Linked DNA regions of Homo sapiens: regions 1, 2 and 4 are each linked to region 3. Evidence: promoter capture Hi-C in 16 types of primary human blood cells and fetal thymus (Javierre and others, 2016). All regions are on one chromosome and are shown on one strand. The core of a region is centred on a gene start or on the middle of the fragment in contact, and the rest is flanking DNA. Distances in the headings are between cores, read along the strand shown.

Evidence for each region. Contacts are between HindIII fragments. The CHiCAGO score rates a contact against its expected background, and 5 or more counts as called.
Region 1: a fragment that was not itself captured here is called in contact with the fragment with the promoter of P2RY10 in region 3 in 1 of 17 cell types (total B cells); the score reaches 5.0 in total B cells.
Region 2: the fragment with the promoter of ATP7A here is called in contact with the fragment with the promoter of P2RY10 in region 3 in 10 of 17 cell types (total B cells, total CD4 T cells, naive CD8 T cells and 7 more); the score reaches 33.8 in total B cells.
Region 4: the fragment with the promoter of ATRX here is called in contact with the fragment with the promoter of P2RY10 in region 3 in 5 of 17 cell types (total B cells, non-activated CD4 T cells, naive B cells and 2 more); the score reaches 8.3 in total B cells.

What each region holds. Positions count from the first base shown.
Region 1 is chrX:80,805,177-80,808,083 of GRCh38, forward strand. The region is part of intron 4 of BRWD3 (bromodomain and WD repeat domain containing 3); the gene reads right to left. Among named protein-coding and RNA genes, the nearest start is that of BRWD3, 3.2 kb to the right of the region's middle. The HindIII fragment of the contact is 274 bases long and covers 1,511-1,784 here.
Region 2 is chrX:77,908,993-77,911,988 of GRCh38, forward strand. It overlaps ATP7A (ATPase copper transporting alpha), which reads left to right and starts at 1,701. Exons shown (of 23, transcript NM_000052.7): 1 at 1,701-1,843. The HindIII fragment of the contact is 7,135 bases long and covers 1-2,996 here.
Region 3 is chrX:78,943,943-78,947,151 of GRCh38, forward strand. It overlaps P2RY10 (P2Y receptor family member 10), which reads left to right and starts at 1,449. Exons shown (of 4, transcript NM_014499.4): 1 at 1,449-1,553. The HindIII fragment of the contact is 3,107 bases long and covers 1-1,492 here.
Region 4 is chrX:77,784,752-77,787,574 of GRCh38, forward strand. ATRX (ATRX chromatin remodeler) reads right to left here and starts at 1,465. Exons shown (of 35, transcript NM_000489.6): 1 at 1,231-1,465. The coding sequence starts at 1,250. RefSeq lists a silencer at 1,079-1,128 and enhancers at 1,229-1,338, 1,349-1,538. The HindIII fragment of the contact is 7,766 bases long and covers 1-2,277 here.

The DNA.
Region 1 (2,907 bases), core at 398-2,897, 1.9 Mb after region 3:
TAGAATATGTAATTTAGTATAAACACTGAATCAGATGATTGTTTCAGAAAACAGAAGGTAAGGATTTCATTACTACTACTAACAGTAGTAATGAAATGTTGAAGAAATTCAATTTATCATTACCTTAATATTATTCTGATAAATTAAGCATTAATGACAATCAGTTCAAATGAAAGTATACATATGAACAAAAAGGCAGGATTTTTGTCTCATATATGCAGTATACGTGGCCATGCAACCCCTATTTACTATGTTGATATCCTAGTTAACACTTCATTGTACATTTGTACTCTTTCCTTTTCATACCCCAATACACCTTAAGTTTGTAATGCTGCTATATAATGTAATATTCCAGGTAAATCAAGATGATACTATTAATACTTTGCCCTAAATTTCAATCCAAAACATGCAGCTAAATCAAAGACCACACTTTATAAATCTATCATTCCAATAACAATTTAAAAAATACCTACCCCAGGCCGGGCGCGGTGGCTCATGCCTGTAATCCCAGCACTTTGGGAGGCTGAGGTTTACGAATCACGAGGTCAAGAAATCGAGACCATCCTGGCCAACATGGCGAAACCCCGTCTCTACTAAAAAATACAAAAATTAGCTGGGCGTGGTGGCGCGTGCCTGTAGTCCCAGCTACTTGGGAGGCTGAAGCAGGAGAATCGCTTGAACCTGGGAGGCGGAGGTTGCAGTGAGCCGAGATCCCGCCACTGCACTCCAGCCTGGCAATAGAGCGAGACTCCCTCTCAAAAAAAAGAAAAAAACAAAAACACCTACCCCAAGAAAAAGTATCCCATCTCTTCTACAATGCAGCCACTCAAAATCAGGTCATATGTGAAATAATTTTAATCAAAAATATTACTGACAAACTTAGCAATCAAACCAACACTGCACATTCACTTCTCAGCCACTACACTTCTGTTCAAATTATCACTCAACCCTGCCCATCTTCTCTTACAAAGAAGTCCATAGGTAGAGAACAGACATGTAAAAGAAAACCATGGTATCTAAACTATAATGTTCAAACAACAGAACAAACTCTGTGTACGTAAAAAAAATAGAAAATATAAAAACAGAAAAGAATATTTAAAAGATACGTTAAAATTGAGTATATGTAAGAATTAACAATTTTATTTAATTCCTTAAAGGTTAAGCCTCACTAGTAATGAAAAAAAAAGAGCTACTTAAGTCAACCAGGAGCTATTGCCATCTATTAAATATTAAAGAAACTGAATGATTTAAAGCTATTAAAAAACTCACTCTAAATACCTAGATGATGACATTATAAATTAGTACAATCTTCTGGAGAGCAAACAATATATGACAAGAGCTATAAAACTCATGAGACCCTTTGACCTGGTAACTCCACTTTAGGGAATAAAGTCCAGGAAAATAACTGGGGGCAGAAGGGATAGGGGAGAAAGTAAAAAGCAGAAAAAGACCACCTAACTATGCAAAGTTATTAGTAAAAATCTGGAAGTAGCTCAAATGCTCAACTGGAAGCTTGGTTCAAATCATATCGTACCTTAAATACAACTGAATTTTTTCTTACCATTAAAATAATGATGACTATTCAAATACACAAGTACATTTTTAAATGTTAAGAAAAATATGAAGCATAAAATGGACACTGATCACAATTATGTAAAAATGTCTTTACAATATGAGGAAAAGTCTAGTAAACTGGGTTGTTGGGGTTTTTTTGGTGAGGAGACTATTTTTTAATTACTTTGATTTTCATTTCCTTTTTATCACTGTCAAGTTAGTTTCAAAAAAGCTTTTTCCTTTTAATCTCCTTTGCCACTTGCTTAAAATAACACATATAGGCTGTGAGAAGGACAAATGTAAAGGAAAACATTTTCAATACACCTCAGTATTAAAACTATATATAAAAACCTGTATCAGTCATTAAGTGTTAAAACATATTAGTAGGCACTGTTGTTTTTGCCTCTTTTAGGGGGAGGGAAAGACTTAAGTCCAACAGAAAGACTGACTACAAATTAACCTGGCAGTACATGAAGTTTTTCAAAACTAATTTTTCTCCATCTGAGAAATTGTTACTATTAATAATACAGATGGTCGAGTTTACCCTTATCACAATTATACCATTTTCTGTGATTTGCAAAATATAAGAAAACTATACAGTCGGTAGACTTGATAATAATAATGTGGCCTCACTGTTGTAAGATAACACAAACAAAAATAACAAAATGAACATTGAAGCAATTTAAATATAGTCTTATTGCAAGCAAATTTTAAATCATTTATATTTAGAGTCTATCATACACCGCCAACTTTCTTTAACTTTGTCCGATTTTCCTCCACTTGGATCTTACTTGAAGGAAAGATAGCTGAATTTAGATTTTAGTAACATCATTCCTTTCTCCTTTCACTACCCTCCAATGCACTGTGGCAGCAGCTAACACAAGGGAACCTCCCCCGCAAAATAAAAAGGATCACCTGTTTTTGTGTGTCAATGCTGAACACAAGGTACATTTATACTATGAATTATATTTGCAGGAGAAACAACATAGACCAATGCCTTTGGTCCTTCACTAAAGTATATTCCATTTTTAAATATGTCCATTGTTGTCTCCTTGTAAACCCAAAATCGTGTTTCACCAATTCTCAAAAAGTGATAACTCAGTTTCTATTTAGTGAAAACGGGTCTATGCAAATGCGACTTAACTGATAATTGAATGAGCTTATAAAATCGGAGATACGTAACGATTATGCTTTTACTCAGTAGACCATTACCTAACCGGCAAAATTTGAAATTGGCTTGACGCTCCTTATTATTTTTAATTATGTCGTTTTTCCTAATCCCTGGTCCGTCAATTCCCCTCCAGAGCCCCTTCCTCCCACGCCTCCCCCCTGCCCCCCCGCCCCCCCCAAAAA
Region 2 (2,996 bases), core at 451-2,950, 1.0 Mb before region 3:
ATATTTTTGGTTTTGCCTTTTAGTGAATTTCTTTTGGATGCTTAACACAATGTTAATATAGTTACAAACCAACTTGCTAATATTTGGAAACCCACTTAAAAGCTATCTTCATTTCATATGATGTGATTTTTAAGATTTTAAATTTGGGGCTGAGTTTGTATCTTAATAATTAAGGCTGCACACATTGACAACTACAAAATAATGCCTGGGAAGATGAGTCCTGAGGCTAATTTTATATTTATGTGGATGAGTGTGGAGGGGGATAATAATTCTGAAATACTTAATCACAGACCTAAAATGTAGATCTATGGGTAATTTTAAATGTTGCCTGTCAAGGCTTAATAGGGACTTGACAACAGCTAGGATGGAAATTATTTCAACACTTAAATATGCTTACTTTGTGCCGGACGCTGTTCTAAGTCTTTTACAAATATTTACTTGATATTTGTATTTTGTGTACTATTTTGATTTCTGCAACATTATTAGGCTTCATACTCTTCTGTGGGAACTGGGTTCAAATGGTTCCAGATGAAAATACAAATAGTCCTGTGATTAGTTTTGTTCTACATCTTATGACAGATACTTCATGAAAGGAAATATGAAAAGGCCACATCTTGCTTTGAAATAAGTGAGATGGAGCCTCTCCCTCTTTTTACTGTTAATGTTCATAGTTTTAAAAATCCTAGAATTTTGCTGCTTTTCAAAATGTTAAGTTGGAAAGCAAGAATAAAATGACCCTTTTTTCAAATGTTTTCTGTACCATTTATTGCATTGTTTACATTTTATGCATCTCATTTCTAAATGAACTCATGGTAACAGAGACTGTAACACTTTTGCATCACCGGAATCTTCTAGGTGTGTAAAATGATGGACGAGTGAATGAATAAATGGGGGAGTGGTTCAGAGCTTGGAATGGCGCTATGAAGGTGGTGAAGTGACGTCCCTACCCCCTCAACACACATATAAAAATTATGAATTTATAAACATTTTCCTCTTGATGTAATTTTTCAATGGAGGGAAGAGGATAAATTCATAGTTCTGGCACTTACATCTGGAATTAGGCTACACAGTCTACGGGAAGCAAGTTAACACAGTCTAACAGATGCACGTGAATTTCATGCTGGGCGAAGATGAACTATGTGGAAGATGACTTATAAGGAGCTTTTATGTTACATCTTGGCAGTTAACACAGTCTAACTGATGCACGTGAATTTCATGCTGGGCGAAGATGAACTATGTGGAAGATGACTTATAAGGAGCTTTTATGTTACATCTTGGCAGTTAACACAGTCTAACAGATGCACGTGAATTTCATGCTAGGCAAAGATGAACTATGTGGAAGATGACTTATAAGGATCTTTTATGTTACATCTTGGCCTGAGGTTAGGAAACTAAAGATGACAAAGGCACTGTTTTAGTATGGGTTTTCTGGTTTCGCTTTTGTCGTGGGGGCGGGGTGGGATAGTGGACTCGTACCCTAACAAAGACCCACTCGAGGCTGCGTGTCGGCCCGGGGGCAGCAGGGGGCAGGAGAAGCTGGCTCTAGACCACGCGTTCCTTTTCACGTGACCAGTCGCTCTCTTTCCCGTGGCGGCCCTGCTTCCGGCAGGGGCATCACCCGGAAGTGGGGGTAGTCGAGGGAGGGAGGGGTAAAGGCGGCTGGCCGCCGCGGCGGGGGGTGGGAAAAGAGAAGCAGAGGGAGGAGTTGTTGCTGCCGCCGCCGCAGCCGCAGCTACTGTGACTTCTCCGATTGTGTGAGCTTTGTTGGAGCCTGCGTACGTGGATTTATCGCTGCCACGGTCTGCGTAGCTCCAGAGGTTTAACCATAGGATAGAGAAACCAGGTAAGTCCTACATTGGCTTCCCGTCGTCCTTTCTCCTGGAGGGGGTCTTCTGTGCTGTCAGTTTGTACTACGAGTGTGGTGAGAAGGTCATGTTAGTCTGGGGCAGTCTCGAAAGTTTCACTTATTCACAATTCAGGTATTAACTACATTTATGTTTTACCTCCCCTAACAGGGGATAGAGGAGGGGAAATTAAATCCTGACCTGTGTCACTTTCTTGTACCCTCTTGGAGAGAATGTCCTGATCATCCATGGCCTACGTTACCCAATTAATTGAGGGTACAAGAAAGTTTGTGTTTGGCATTGAAAGTCACATGGACTGGGGTCTTTGCTTAGTGACACCTCTTTATACTTTGGAAGCTAAGGTTACTAAAATGACCATAATTGATGAAATAATAATTGAAAAATAGATATTTGGCTTCTTGTCTTGCTCTGGGAGCGTAAGGTAAACTGAGAGAACTCTTGTTTCCACTTAGTTTTGTTCATTGTGCCCCCTTTCCAGTAAAGTTACTGTCCATTGTCCGACCCTGTGGCATCTTATCTTTGACACTTTTCTTCGTTGTAGACGTTGAGATTATCTTAAGCACAAACACTTATCGTTTCACAATTCAGCGTTTGTCCAGGATCTGATCTTTATTTTAATCACAGACTCTTTATCTACAATAGTATGGCTTTGTATTGAGAATATGTGCAGAACATTGAATTAGATGATACTGAGGTTATTAATTTTTTTTTTTTTTTGCCGGGTGCGGGGGGGTGGTGGGGAGGGGGTGATGCACAAGAAATAAGACAGAGTTCCTGGCCTCAAAAGAGTTTACTTACAGTAGGCTGGGCGCAGTGTCTGACACACCTGTAATACCAACACTTTGGGAGGCCGAGGAGGGTGGATCACCTGAGGTCAGGAGATCGAGACCAGCCTGGCCATCATGGCGAAACCCTGTCTTTACTAAAAATACAAAAATTAGCTGGGCGTGGTGGCGGGCGCCTGTAATCCCAGCTAGTCGGGAGACTGAGGCAAGAGGATCGCTTGAACCTGGGAGGCGGATGTTGCAGTGAGCCGAGATCGTGCCACTGCACTCCAGCCTGGGCTACAAGAGCGAAACTGTCTCCAAAAAAGAAGAAAGAAAAATAAACAGTTTACATACAATTGAGTCC
Region 3 (3,209 bases), core at 199-2,698:
CTCAAAATTTACCTGAGTTAAAATTTTTCATTTGAATTGGGACACTGACTTCTGGTTTTATTTTTCTTCCCTTTTTAGGGTCAGTGACAGAAGAAGCTGCTTGCGTGCAAGACAGAAATGAAGTAAACTGGTAGGTTTCCTTCTCGCAATGTGAAGGTTTTGTCTGTGAAATAAAGTTGGGATGTGGTGATCATAGCCAGTTGTAAGAAAAGGATTTCTTGTATTTCTGGATCCCAGGGTTTGCCTTCAAAGCTCAACAGGTCTGGAATTTTTTTGTTTGTTCAGAGAAGAATCTTACCCTAGGAAAACTGGCTCACACTAACCATAGGGAGGAACACAACTGCCAAATGGACTGAGATGTGTGTTGGTCTGTCAGTGTATTCTCTTTTCAGTAGGGATGCCAATTCAGAAACCTAAATTAACAAAAGATAGGAGCTGAATAAACATTTGAAATCAAAATTAAGAAGGGGATTGAAAGGCTAAACTTGTTTCATTTGACATACATCAGCCAGGATGATGCCAGTCTTCACAAGTTATGACATTTCCATCAATCATCCCAAGCTCTTAGTTTCCAATACTGTCAGCTTCTCTTTCCCTTACACGCCAACAGGGGTTTGTGCTGCATTTTAAACCTCGTTTCTCAAAACTACTCTCAGACTTAGTTGACACTGTAGTCCTCAAGTGTATGATCTTCCTGTATTCACATAGTTTTGAAGGCCCCATATACACTGTACATAAAAACCAGAATTTTAGTACACTGGAGGGAGACCCCGTAATCAATAATGTTCATTTACTTATTCATGCATTCTTTGAGCATTTGTTTATTTATTAATTCCCATATGTATTCATTCAATAACAATTCATGAAAATGCCTTGTGCTGGACAAATTGGGAATACAGATATGAATCAGACATGATCTTTACCCTCAAGCAGTGTGCAGTCTAGTAAAGGGATAATAAATATACAAAAATAATGAAACTATGTGTTAAATTGTGAGCCTCAAGATGAAGGGGTTGGGAGAGGGGCACTCCAGATGGAGGGAACAACTTAAGCAAAGGTACTTCTACTGTTTCTAATTTTGACTTGTATTTTTTAGGTTTCCTCAGCCTTTGCCCCTCAGGCTTGCACAAGCTGTAGCTTTCTTGTTACTAGGTAAACACTCTTTAGATTTTCCTGAAAATTTCATCTTACCATGGAACCTACTGGAATCAGTGAAAATCTAGATATGTCGGTTGTCAAGGAAGGAGATAGGGTGAGGAAGGCTGTTATATAGCCATTGTGTGAGTATGCATAGCCTCTGACTCCCTGCTATTTGAATTTCTCTGCACCAATGAAATAAAAAGAAATAAAATTTGAGTAACGTCATTTGCTCAAGGGACTTACCTTTCATTTGTGCAAATAAGGTTTCTGTGGTGAGACACCAGATAAACTCAACTTCCTCTTTCAACAACAAATGTGTCAGTTATCAGCAGGATCCATGCCGCCAGAGTAAAGCTTTCTACCCTTTACTCCCTGCAAAGAAACAAGAGTGCTTATCCCAGCTAAGCTCCAGGGTAAGTTAATGCCTAGCACCTGGGGATTGGTGGTTTCATGTGGGAAGATTGGTGTGATCATAAAAATCAGAACAGAGGTGGATGTGGGGCCAGTGTCTGTATTAAAATTGTCACTGGTTTCTCATCTCAGACATCTTACAACAGGAGCAAAGATAATTACTGTTGAGTTTGACCAGAGTCCAAAGTTAACGTTAATGCCATCAGTCCTCTTCATTATGCCAGGAGCATGGAGTCTGTGATGCAGCTCACTCTTTGATGAGGGCTCTTTAGAGAGTGGGACCAGAGAAGATGGCACAAAGTGGTAAGAAGAGTATATTCAGTGAGACTCATTGGGACAACTTGACATATTCGGCCAATAAAAGTCAATTTAATTTTTTATGGTGTATAATTTATCTAGCTGCATCGTGAAGGAAGATTTTTGGGTATAAAATCCTTGCTTTGGAAAATTTAGCTTTCAGAGATACTGAGACAAATAGTAGAAAGCAGGGTAATAGATTCTGGGGGCTGAAAGGGCCCATAGAGATCCAAATCCCTCACAATACAGTCAGGAAAACTGAGAGCCAGTGAAGTGAAGACACTTAGGTTCACTCAGCTTGTTAGTGGTATAGGTGGATCTAGGACCTGTGTCTTTAAACTCATGTTTGCCTTTTCCTACAGCAGTTTGCATCTCCCAGAGAATACTGTAAATTTATTTGTGACCCTGCCATTTTTTAGGATAGGAAAGGAGAAAGTATCCCAGATGACTTCAGAGTCTGGTCAGAGTGGTTCCTTGATCCTTTGAAAGCTAATTTTGACCGAAGTTCAGCCTTACTGGATAGCAAAGCCCATGAGTGAGGCACTCATTTTTTCAGTTATTATTGCTATTACTCTGAATACTAGCACCTCTCTCCTTCTGAGCTAAGATGACTAAATCAAAAGGAGACTTTCAGCTAAGGAGTCCCTGAAGGGAGACTGTGCCAAATCATTTGGAACCAGGATAAGGCTGGATAGAATGATACCAGATTTGGCTGTGCTTTCCAGGGGAGTAGGCTCAGTTCCAAGAATCCTGCAAGTGAGAATATTTTTATTTCAGTTGTTCAAATGGATGTGTGGAGTCATTATGATGTATATTAATTGGAGAATCTATCTCTTAGCAATTGCAGCACAGTAAAATTAACCACTTATGAAAGTAGGTGATATGCAGATATACTGAGGTGGAAAATGGTGTAAACTACAGTCAGAATCAGATCACACATTTGGGGCAATTGTTTTTGCAATGGTTCCTGTTGAACACAGATTCTTTGGCCAAATGCAGTTTATTTTGGGGCTCAACTGGGAAAGTTGTAGAGTTCAAGTTGTACAGACTACTCAAATCTGAAGACATCAAATGAATAAACACATTTATGGGTTGTTTTGGTTTGAAATAAGTGAGTTGGGGTTTTAAAAGACAGGCCAGCCTGCTGGGCTTGGTGGCTCACGCTGTAATTCCAGCATTTTGGGAGGCCGAGACAGGTGGATCACCTGAGGTCAGGAGTTCGAGACCAGCCTGGTCAACATGGCGAAACCCCGTTTCTACTAAAAAATACAGAAATTAGCTGGTTGCAGTGGCAGGCGCCTGTAATCCCAGCTACTGGGCAAGCTGAGGCTGGAGAATCGCTCGAAACCGAGAGATGGAGG
Region 4 (2,823 bases), core at 215-2,714, 1.2 Mb before region 3:
GCAGAAATACAGACATACGTATCATAGGCTCATTGCCCAATTCTACATTCTAGCTAAATTGCTCTAAAAACATATGCCAATCTAAGAGTTACTCAAAGGCACATTTCGCCAACTTGAAATGCAATTCTGACCCATGCTCCTTGTAATTTTATTTTGCCACTGGACGCCAAGGATGCATCTCCGAGTAAAAAAATTACTTAATTCACATTGTGGGATGAAAATTCAAATGTCAAACTGAAACGCCAGCCAGCCACCTGGGTAAAAGTGTATACATTTCATATTGACTACCCAAATTTTCAGACCCGTCAAGAGGCAAATCAGAAGCACACAGAAAAACAGCTTCAACCTAATAAACGTGCTTGATTGGTTAAGAGGAGGCCTGCCAGGCATTTTCCCTTGCAATAAATCTTACTTCGCATCAGCCCACGTTAACCTGCCCTTCATCCTTCATGGAATAAATAAGTAAATAAAGATAGGGCCTAATTACTCCTCGAAATTTGCCCAGAAAGTGGGGAAACACTTGAGGTCCCATTAAGGCTGGACATCACAAAAAGTAGTATACTAGGGTCCTCTGGAAGCAAAACCCTGTGTTAAGTCCCCCCTCGCCTAGAAATAAACCCAAGGATATCCTTCAGGATATGGAGTAGAAAAGATACCTAAATACCTGGAACTGCACCACAACCCAATCAAAAAAAGGCTTGTCTCCTGGGGCTGCAGAAAAAAAATCCCGCAGGGCCCGGGTGCTTCCCATCTCCAGCAACCTAAACGCCTCTAAGTCGTCCTGGGATCTCACATCCTCGCGCCCGCCCACCCCTCCCCCTCTTCTCACCCTCCCCCCGCTTCTTCCCCACGCAGTTTCTAGGCCCAAAGATTAGCAAAAATGACCGGGATACCAAAGACCGCCTCCGACTTCGAGGTCTCAATCCCACAGGCACCAAAGAATAAACAGAGGAGCCCGACCAAGCGTCACCGTTTAGGGGAGATTGCAAGAAGCGCCCCATACCCTAGGCCGCGCCCCCCCCACCTCCCCCCACCCCATCCCCACCCCCACCCCCGTCGGAGCCTTGCGCCGATACCCCGAAACCCTTCTCACCTAAAGAGAAAACGATGCCTCTTTCGGCTAAGCAACACACAGGCCTAACCCACCAAGCGAACGCCTTCCCAAACACCCGACTCAGACGGTGCCTGGGCCCAGACCGCTGGGGCCCATGAGACGGGGTTGCGTTTTACCTCATGGGCTCAGCGGTCATGTTTTCGCTTGAACGCCTTGTCGGCTTCTGTGATTGCTGGGCGCCGATCTGCGCTCCCCCGCGCCCGGTTACGATAGAAATGCACTGGAGTCTTAGTCGTCACTGTAGCTGCTGCTGGAACCTCCCCACAGCTCAAAGGCCGCTACCACTGCCACCGCCGCAGGAGCCGCGGAAACAAAGCGACACCGCTGCCGCCGCCATTTTGTTGGGCCGAGGCTCAGGCAGGAGAATTGGCGCGTCCTCCCTCTTTCTCTTTCCGTCAGCCATTGGCTACCTCCTCCAAAGCACAGAGTCTTATTGGCTACGGAAATTCACCTTCTTTGGGGGCCTGTTGCTAAGGCGGTCGACGTCATTTGATCCCCTCCACCTTTTCGCAGGGGGTCCAATTTAGTCCCAATTGACCTGAAAGTGCTAGTGACATAGTTTGACTTTATTTTGAAAATGCTCTTTTGGTCCAACCTCTTTTTTCTTTGACATATTAACGAAGTAATAACAGCAACCTACATTTATTGAGAGTTTACTATATGCTCGGCACTACACTAATCCTTTATCCGGGTTATCTCATTTAATCTTTACACTCTCTGAGGTAGACAAACCTACATTTTCCAGATGAGGAAACCAAGACACAAAGTCCCACAGTAGTGGAGCCGAGATTCACCAGACACTCTTAACCACTAATCTGTATGGCCATCCTATGTAAGTATTTTCTTTCCTATATGCTAGGCTATCATCAAGTTATTTGCTTTCCTAGATGTTTTATACATAATATTTGGCACACCAACATGCTTGGAAATGTATATGTGTATAATATACTTATATATATGTATATGTGTGCAGACGACATAAGACCAACTTGAACGCTGCATAAAATTCTTTCCATATTGAATAAAGTGTCTCTTAGAATACACACACACACACACACACACACACACACACACACACACACACGGGCCATTTCCCCAATTTGATGTGATGTTTAGCTCACAAACCAATCAATTTAGATCTGCTTCCTTCTCATTACAGAGGAAGCTTGGCTGGATGATCTGTAAATGCCTTTCCCGCTTTTATGATCTATAATTTGATTTTACATTGGTAATCTCTGCTAATCACAAACAAGTCCTCTAAAATCTAATCGCTTCGAAATTTATTTCCAAATTTATTCTGCCATGCATGCTTTAGTTCATTCTATTTATTTTTCTTGAAATATGCAAGAGCTCCTGTCGGGGTTAGGTGACAGGGTTGCTGCTTTCTACTGGGATAGCAAGAGGGGAGCCTTTTTTGAATGAAACACTTTGAAAATCTGATAGGCTCAGGCAACTTTTTTTTTTTTTTTTTCTGAGACAGGGTCTAGCTCTGTCACCCAGGCTGGAGTGCAGTGGCGTGACGCAGTTCACTGCAGCCTCGACCTCCTAGGCTCAAGCAATCCTCCCACCTCAGCCTCTCAAGCAGCTGGGACTGCAGGCGCGTGCCATCAAGCCCAGCTAATTATGTATTTATGTATTGGTATAGATGAGGTAGGTCTGTCTGTTGCCCAGGCTGGTCTCAAACATCTAAGCTCAAGCCATCCTCCAAC